Linked DNA regions of Homo sapiens: region 1 is linked to region 2. The links are contacts of gene promoters, found by promoter capture Hi-C in human tissues and cell types (Jung and others, 2019). All regions are on one chromosome and are shown on one strand. Each heading gives the region's core, a stretch centred on a gene start or on the middle of the fragment in contact. The rest is flanking DNA. Distances are from core to core; before and after follow the strand shown.

Region 1 (4,578 bases), core at 987-3,486, 77 kb before region 2:
GACTGAAGAGGAGGATTGAGGCAAAGCTGGGGCAGTAGGATTGAGGCAGAGCTGGGCCAGGGGTCAAAGCTGCTACCACCATTCCAGCAGGCTCCTCTCAGAGCTCTCTATTTAGCATTAAGCCTTTCCTTTTTCCAAATGCTCTCAACTTCTCATTATGAACTCAGCATCCTCTACCGGGTCACAGTTGGTGAGAACCAGCCAGTCCTCCCAGAATGTGAAACGATGGCCTCAGAGCAAGCTAAAGAGACAGCTCTAAGAAGTTGGAATGGCTTTACCCTCAGTGGCAGGGAGCTAAATATTTCATCTTCATAAAATAAACATAGATCATCTCATCATGAAATATACATAAAAATGTTTAAACATGTTAATTATTAAACCAATATTGATTCATATTGGATGAGGCATTAAGGGAAATTTAGATAATGTATTTAATATCTCCTCCACAGTTGACTAGTATCAGAATTCATCATATCTAACCACCAATAATCATAAAAGTGGCAGACAATATTTATGATCAGGGGTGAGTGAGTACCAGACAGGAAGCAATGAGGACGGAGGAAATATGAGGATCTAAAGGACAGAGCCTTTCAGTTGTCACAGCTCATCCTTGGAATTTCAGACATAAATCACTGGGTGCAGTCACATCATCAAAGTTTGATAAACCTTTCATATTGGGACAGTTATTGAATATCATTTGGACCTGGCTTCCTTCTCAAAAATGAAATGGCATGGCTGATGCAATGTAAAGAGAGAAAGAGAATTGGAGCAGAGCTTTGAAATCCTGGATTTGAATTCTATCTCACTGATTTTTACAGCCTTAGGTTCTATTTACTCGTCTGCAAAATGGGGTAATAATATTTGTGGGTGGCATTTTATTCTCATCGTTATATATGTTTTAATCTTACCTCACCAAATGGATCTCAAATCTCTAGGAGTAGAAGTTTTTGCCTTTTGTGTTTTTTTCTTCTGTGTCCTGATAACAATTTATTTCGTTATTTTAGTTATTAAAAGCCCTGCCGTGGAATTAGAAAAATCTGGATTTGAATTCTGAATCTTGAGCAAGTTTCTTTGTGCCTCAAGTTCCCCGTCCTTATAACAATTCACCTGCCTCATGGGTTCACTGTGATTATAACCTGACACAATGTGTGTAAAGTGTTAAGAATGTAGCATACAGGACATGGTAGGTACCTGGTGGCTGTTAGTATCCTCTTAGAGCAGTGACAGCGAACTAAGCTTATAATTATTCAATGAAATTTCAACAGGCTGTTTTTATCAGTAATTTATGAACTTTGAACACGGGATGTAATTTTAAATATCAGTCCCTGTGGATAACTGTGGAATCATGCAAACTAGCTTCTAGCCCAGACACTGCCTCTATTGGGGCCAAATCTTGAGAAGAAACTCGGCTTGTTGTGCCTCCAAGTTTAGTGTCCTTCCACCTCCCCCCAGGTTCTAGTGCTTGGAAGGAAGAATTTCTCTCTGATGTGAAGACATTCTTGGGAAGAGCTAGTTCGAGTCCCTTCTCTGCCATCGATTCAATCTCTGAGACTCAATTTCCTCATCTGTAAAAGAGAGATCAAAATATCTAACTCACTACTTCATTTTGAGTATAAAAGAAACTTAAAAAAAACACAGACACATTTTGCCAATTTAGATATATTAGCTATTATATTTTCCAAATTTTGAGATATACTTTTTTATTTAACATTTCTGAAATTGGAATATCTTACAATTGACATGTACATTAATGTAGTGCTTCTCTCTTTTTCTCAAGGAGCTCTTATTAAATCAGTAGCATGTCTTATCATTGGAAATGTCTTTAAATCAAGACAGAATGATATTATTATCCATCTCACCATAATTGTATAGACCCTCCTAAGAAACAGCAGTGCTTCCCCCTAGATCAACTATTCTGGGGTCAGGTAGTTGCTAGTAAGTGAAAAAAGTCAGTGAGACCTAGATGTATTCTCTTATTTTCTTCTGCAATAAAGTATATTGACTTACTGTGGGGGTATTCCTCAGCTAAGATGTGGGGAAAATGTCAGACACATGGATATTTCCCAAGAACATATTCCTGAGATGCATTTTTGCATCCAGGAAAAGTTGATGAGAAATGGTTTGTGTATCAGGACCCATCAAACTCTGAGACTGAAAACCTCTCCAGCAGTATTTCTTGGCTACCAGATGTTATACAGCTGCATTGCAAATTGTTATCTGAGCTCAAAAGGGAAGAAAAGAGAGGACTGTTGAAGCCGTGAAGGGACATGACACAGTAAATCGTGCATTTAATTTCAACTTAATGTGAGAGATAGCATGCATTAGATAAATATTGTCTGATCATTAAAAACATATTTATGGAAGTTTAGCAACTTTGTTGGGGATGTGTGACTAATAATACAGAATTGTGAGGCCTCGGAAACATATTTGTCTTAATCGATTGGTGTTTAGTTTGGATTATTGACTGTTAAATCAAAATAAAAGTTTTCAGTTGAGGTTTTGCATTTCATTCATGACAGATTTGTCTTCATCCACATACTCATATTGGATACCAAGTTTGCCCATAAAAAAGCCCACTCTAACAGAATCATAGAATTTCTCTGTTGGAAAAGTTCTTAGAAATCCAATCTCCTTCCAGCTTTTTTCCGTGTAAGTGCATTTTATCTGCTTTGAATTACAACTATATTTTCTGAATAGATGTAGTGTTACTATTTTGAGGAAAATGTTGAAAAGAAAACAGATCATCTGTATTCCTTTCACTATACCATTCCCTTCCATTTCATTTTCTGTATATCTCTGTAGGTTTTGTACATAGTGATAATTGTGGTATATGGGTAAGTTATTTCTAAACCTTCTTCTTCATTGTTACTACATAGTTTTCATGATTGCTAGGTTTAATAACATAATACTAGAATAACCTAATACTAGAAAATGGCTGTGCTGGCTGGGCATGGTGGCTCATGCCTGTAATCCCAGCATGTTGGGAGGCTGAGGTGAGCAAATCACTTGAGGTCAGGAGTTCGAGACCAGCCTTGCCAACATGGCGAAACCCTGTCTCTACTAAAAATACAAAGAATAGCCAGGTGTGGTGGTGTACATCTGCAGCTCAGCTACTTGGGAGGCTGAGGCACGAGAATCCCTTGAACCTGAGATGGAAGGCAGAGGCTGCAGTGAGCTGAGATTGTGCCACCACACTCCAGCCTGGGTGACAGAGCAAGACCCTGTCTCAAGAAAAGGAAAGGAAAGGAAAGGAAAAGGAAAGGAAAGGAAAGGAAAGGAAAGGAAAGGAAAGGAAAGGAAAGGAAAGGAATGGAAAGGAAAGGGAGGGGAGGGGAGGGGAGGGGAGGGGAGAGGGGGAGGGGGAGGGGGAAGGGGGAGGGGAAGGGAAGGACTGTGCTATGACATACTGAACTATTTTCTTTCTGCTATTGAGACTTTTAAGTTGTGTCTGGTGGAGGCAGACTGCCTAAGTTATAATCTTGTTTCTACCCACTTATCAGCAATATGACCTTGGATAAGTACCTTAATGTTTCTGTATCTCAACTTCCTTATTGGTAAGACGGGGATAATATTAGTATCACTGCATAGAGTAGTTGTGAAGATTAACCCGTGTTAAGCATTTGAAACTGACACACAATGGACACCTGGTAAGTGTTAGTTATTATGTTGATAAATAAGTCAGCTGTAATTATTATGGATATTCTTCCCTAAAATGTTGAAACATGTTTTTCTTAAAGATGATACCCAAGCCATTTTCATAAAATTTCATAGAAATTGTGACTTAGACCCTTTTTGAACATTTCCAAAGTCAAATAATCAATTACCTACCTAGACAGGTTATTTTACTATGGGATGGCTTTAATCATTGGGAGTCTTTTCATGTTTAATCTAAATGAAGCTTCCAGTGAATCCCATGCAATAACTAGGTTCTATGCCTGTAATCATGCAAATTTTTTCAATACATTGAATCTCAAAGCATGTTCCCCAGGACGCTAGTCATCCCCAAATTCAAGCCATTCAAGTTGCATTGATTCCACCTTTAAAATGTTTTGAAACCATTCTCTCTTTTCTATTTTCATCACCACCACCCAGGTTAAGCCCTCATCCCTCCAGCCCTGGTTACAACAAGAGCCTCCTAGTTGGCTTCTACATCTGCCTTTGGCACATAGCCACCAGACTGGTCTGATACAAAAGCTAATATGATCACACAGTGTGTCCGTGAATGGCCCAGGCTACCTCTAGTGACCATGTTCCTACCTCTGCAAGTAGAGAACTATGGTCTTAAGGACGTTGGCTTTGATTTTAGAAGAAAAAAAACTAAAAAAGCACGTGAAATACTCTACAGTTTGCACAAAACCATGAAGATAAATCTTTCAATTATGCAATTAGAGACTAGGATGCCGAAAGAGATGTTAAATAGATCCTTTCAAGGTAAAGTGTTACATGATTAAAGTTATATTATTTTTCCCAAAAAGGCAAACACAGGGAGCACCAACATGGCAAAAAAAAAAAAAAAAAAGCATACAATGATGTGGGGGTTTATAAATAACTTCAGGAAAGAATTTGCTGCAATAATTT
Region 2 (5,112 bases), core at 495-2,994:
TGGTCAGAATCAAAGTCAGAACTGACCTGGGGAACCTGTGTTCAAGACCTGAACCTGGACCAGAAGCCAAGGGAAAGAGAAAGTTGCCCAAGAAAAAAGGGAGAAATTTCCACCAGGCGAAAATAGAAATCGCTGACTGGGTTTGTGGCTGGAGAGCTGTCCGTGGTGCTGACTCCTCCTCATTGGGATTCCAGTGAAGGCTGAGAAGCTCTGCACTGGCTGCTCCTCCTCTCCCTTTCCTCTCCCCTCAGTCCTGACCTTCTGAGACCCAGGATCATTCTGGCTAGCTCGATGTCTTCTCCTCTCTTTCTCCCTTTCTCTTTGTCGATTAAATAATTTTTCCCGAGTTCCCAGTTCATCACTCAAACATTTCTCTTCCATTTTGTTTCAAGACTCCTCTTCCTCCAATTAGTTCACTGGCTCCTAGATTGTTCTAGGCCTCCCTGGTGGTCACATCTCTCTCTTATCATCCTTTGAATTAAAAAACAAACAAAAAACATACAATGGCAATCATAAAAGCAGACAACATGCACTGAGCACTCACTAGGTGTCAGGGAGCAGTCTAAGTGCCTTTGCATACATTAACTCATGAGCAGTCTAAGTGCCTTTGCATATATTAACTCATTACAATTCCACATCAACCCTATTAGATGGGTAGATATATTATTATTCTATTAAACAGACAAGGAATTGAGGCTTAAGGGGTAAGTGATTTCACCAAGACCAGACAGCTACAGGACTCCAACCTCTCTGGAGCCTGCACTTCTACTGAATCTGGCTCTTTTACATATTCCAACACCTTTTCCTATGACTTCCTGCCCCTCCATCTGGTAGCCTTAATGCTTTCTATTCTTGCCTAATCTTCAGGGGACTAGGGATCTGCATTGCTGATTTGGTTTAAATCAGAAGGGAAGCAAAGTAAACAAACATACCAAATGTGCGCTGTGTGGGAATTATCATACGAGGGCTTTATTTTCTGCTTCAGGAAGAGGCCCTATGTTAGCAGCCCCAGCCTGCATTCAGGCTGATTGCAGAGTATTTTGCTTTTTATTTTCATGTCTTAGTCCCTGTACCCTCGCCCCTTCCCCGCCTCTGGTGGTCTCCAGAGAACTTCGTGTCCCCTCAGCTTCTCCCTCCTACATCCTGCCTACGTAGAGAAGCTCTTGCTTCATTCTGGGAGGTTACGTGGGCTCTCGCCTACACACCGAGAGAAACAAACAGTGTCAAACACTCACAGAGAGACGCGCAGACACAAACGGACCCACACGGGCAACTCCCGAGACAAAACCCACACTCGATGGATCCACGCGGCCGTGGAAACACCTGCCGCCCCAGAAACACTCAGGTACTCGCGACACACACAGTACAGTCACGCTTAAGGGCACCAGGATTCCGGGTTTGCGCGTATGCGCGGTCCCTTTGGATGCTCGTGCGCATAGACACAACACCCTACACGCCCCAGACCCACGAAACTCCCTACGGCTCAGCCCCAGCCCACCCGGGCCGCCCTTCCCTCGAGGCGGCCTCCCGTCTCTCCTCCTCTCGCTTCTCCTCCTCCTCCGCCTAAAGATGTACAAAACACTCCTCGGAAGCAACCCCGGCGTTCAGCTCCTCCCTCCCCGCCCCCCGGCCGCCGCTCCCCCATTCATTTTCGGCCGTCGCCGGCTAAGTCCCTCCCCCGGCGTAGCCCGGCCTCCGCCGCTCCCCGCCCGGAGACCGCGGCGCACTTGGACTTCCCTCTCCATTCGCCAGCCGCCTCGCTCCCGGACCCCACGGCTGCAAACTGATCTGGCGCGCGGGGAGGAGGAGAGCGCAGGCGAGCGAACCCGCGAGAGAGGGAGAGAGCGAGCGAGCAACAGCGAGAGCGAGAGCGAGAGAGCCGGGAGGCAGAGGGAGTAGTGACCGCCTTCCGGAGCCGGGATTCATGCCTGTCCTCGGGACCAGCGAAGGGGACTTTACGGCTGAGTATGAGCCAGGCTGCTAGGAGCCAGGTACCCCCACGCCTGCAGTCCCCGCGCCGTGCCCGGAATGCGAGCTGCACGCAGGGCTCTCCCAAGTTCCCACCGAGCCGAATAAAAAGCGTCCTCCCGCAGCTCTCCGCCAAAGACGGACATTGACTCCAGGTAAGGCGGCGCCGGGTGCAGCGCCCCGCAGCCCCGCTGCCCTTGGACCCGGCCCCGGGCCGCATTCGGGGCGTCCCCGCGCTCCTCTGCCCCTCCCCCTACCGGCACCCTTGTCCGCTCTTCACCTGGCCGCCCCGCCGCCTCCAAGTCTTCTCCAGTTCTAGGGAGGGGGTTCCTGTGCCTGGGGCTCAAAGGGCTAATTGCGGGTTTGAGTGAGTGGCGTGTGTGTCCCCGCGCGCTCCCGACGTGTGCACCATGGTGGGAACTTGATGTGGTGCTAGTGTGTTTGCGTGTGCGGCGTCGTTTGCGTTTGATGCGTGTGTTCGTGGTGTGTGTGTGTGTCCGTGTGTGTAAGGGAGGGGTGAAGAGAGAGAGGTCCTATAACCTACTTACGGCGCGATGTGTGTGTGCATGTTTGTACGTATGTGTTTGTATGTGTGCCCTCGTGTGTCTTTTTAATTAGGTCTCTCCAGCTTACACGGAATGGGACCCTTACTATAGGATCACGTAGTCACCGGGAAACCCGCTGTGGACTTCCTCTTGGGGCTCTGGGCTTGGGGTTTGGGGAGGATTATGGGGCTGTAGATGGCACCTTATTTAGCCCAATGTTGGTACGCTTGAAGGAAAATTCCTCCAAACGGTGGAATCCTGCTACACTGGGACCCACAGCTTAATATGAAAGAGACATGGCCAACCCCCGAGGCAAATGAGACGCTGTCACTTTAAATTCTACACTGGGCAGACTCCAAGATTCTGATGGGAATTTGGAGACACTGGATAGTGGGTGACAGAGAAAGGGGGAAGTCAGCGGTGGGCTCCTTATCTGGGGCTTGGAAAGTCTGGGATAGGGATTTACCCTGCATCCCCGTTTGCAATCAACAGAGCCCCTCCGGCTTCTGTTGGTTTTGGGGAGGATCTGGCAAGTTTGCATGGATCCCCCTCAGGGGAAAGGAGAAAGCGTCCTCGGGGACTTGCTCATCCATCACAGTTGCAAAGGGTCTCAGAGGAAATTTCATCTGGGGCGGCTGTGGATGATATGGAAGGAGATGGATGGGGCACTTTCCTAAGACAGATTCGTCTTTCTTTCCCCATTTCAGGCGGGGAAGCCCCCAGAGAGTCTCTCCCTAAATATGCCTCTCCATGGCTCCCCTGGAGTTAGGGGGATATTGAGAGAAGGCAGAGAGGTGGAGAGGGAGAGAGAGAGAGCAAGAGCGAGAGAGAGGGAGACAGAGAGAGAGAGTGTTTCAGTACTGAGGGAGATCTACAATTTGAAAAGGGGCTGTGAGTGTGGAACCCATGACAGAATGTGGCAGTAATTGACTTAAACTGCTGTCGGTTTGCACCTCGCGTCTCTCACTTGGCTCCAAAATACTGCCAAGGGCAGGGGGGCGGTGGAGGAATCTCAGCCAGGAAGGTAGTTTGGGTCAAGGCCCTCTTTCTTCTTTCCTCCATCTCCTGGGAGGCTCTTTAGGTAGGTCCCTTGGCCACCCTGGCTTGGTACTGTTGGGCTTGGGCTCTGGGGCCAGCCATTGATTTGATTCCCAGCTGCCTCTTAAAGGCTTGCCCTACTCAGCAAAAATGCTGAGTTTTACTGCTGTTAGCATGGCTTCCAGACTCGGCAGCTGTTACTTTCTCAAGGTAAGCGGCAGCCGTTCTGCTCTCAGGCAGGGAGGCTAGGAGAAGACAAGGGCTGTGACGCTGGGACACAGCCTCTTGTCTAGCTCAGCACGGAGGGGCCGCTGAAAAGCCCTCTTAGGGGAAAAAAGTAGAAATATATTTGGCCTAAAAAATGTACACATATATTCTAGGAAGATATATATATATATATATATATCAATCACACACACACACACACACACACATGTGTTCATATTCTGGGGAGAGATAAAAGCAAACATGTATTTGTAGGAACCTGCCCTAGTGGGTGGGTTCTACCTGCAGGCACTTGCAGACATACCATTCTCTGTCCAGAGGCTGATACCTCAGGCTGAAGCCTTCACATAGCCACAGAGAATCTCCTTCAGGAAACTCATGTCAGGGCAGAGCTCCCTGGATTATCTTGGGTAGGGGGTACTAGGGCCAAGGAGGAGACCCATTTTTGGGAACTGCCTCATTTTCTCTCTTTCCTAATTCACAGACGATCGAAACTGGAAGGAATATTAAAGAGCAGAAAGGCAGGACTCTGTGGCCTAAAGAGGGAATGAGAATTCCCCAACATTCAGTAGTGGGTTAGTGGCATGCCCAGGACTAGAATCTAGGCTTATCAATCAGCTAGATCAATACCCTTTCCACTCCTCCCAGCAATATACACTCTAGGACTGTATATTGCTCCCACCCCTATCTTGCCAACCTGCCACCATGACCCCTACCAAGACAATCGCTTGTCTTCCCTCATCAAACTTCACATTTTCAGAGATGCATTTCAGGGTTTTTCTATCTGGAAACATGGCCCTGAAGAGAAAAGATCCAATGCCTCAATCACTATTCCCGAAAGACACACACACACACACACACACACACACACACACACACACACACACACACACACACACGGTGGTGGGGGGAGGACTGAGAGAGAGACAGAGAGAGAACATAGATTCCTTCTCCAATGTCTTTAGGGAATTACCGACAAGCAAGGACCCAGTACTGAGTGTGACTGGTAGGCAGAACCCAGCAAAGTGTCTGGTCTGTATCTAAGATTTTTATTAAGGAATGCACTGGTTTCCAGAGAGCAAAATGTACACCCATCTACCAGTGCAAATACTTCAGGCAAATTAATTTCTTTATATTAATTAGAATCTCACCCCTAGACATTAATACATATTACAGGCACAGAAGCATATGCAAGCACACATGCATAGGTGTGCTTATACACACATGTGCACACAAAGATCCAGAAACCTTTCCTGCTTGCTACATTTCCAAAAAAGAGAACCTCCACACCAAATTGTGTTCTCCCATATAAAGCATCTCCCATGTGAAGAGTAGG

Evidence for each region. Contacts are between HindIII fragments. The study calls those that stand out against the background at their distance.
Region 1: a fragment that was not itself captured here is called in contact with the fragment with the promoter of BRINP1 in region 2 in 2 of the 25 tissues and cell types used here (H1 embryonic stem cells and stomach).

Annotation. Positions count from the first base shown.
Region 1 is chr9:119,444,017-119,448,594 of GRCh38, reverse strand. All of the region lies in intron 1 of LOC105376250 (a long non-coding RNA gene), which reads left to right. Among named protein-coding and RNA genes, the nearest start is that of BRINP1, 77 kb to the right of the region's middle. The HindIII fragment of the contact is 4,247 bases long and covers 113-4,359 here.
Region 2 is chr9:119,366,067-119,371,178 of GRCh38, reverse strand. BRINP1 (BMP/retinoic acid inducible neural specific 1) reads left to right here and starts at 1,744. Exons shown (of 8, transcript NM_014618.3): 1 at 1,744-2,123. RefSeq lists enhancers at 780-1,300, 1,301-1,823, 1,824-2,345. The HindIII fragment of the contact is 11,628 bases long and covers 1-5,112 here.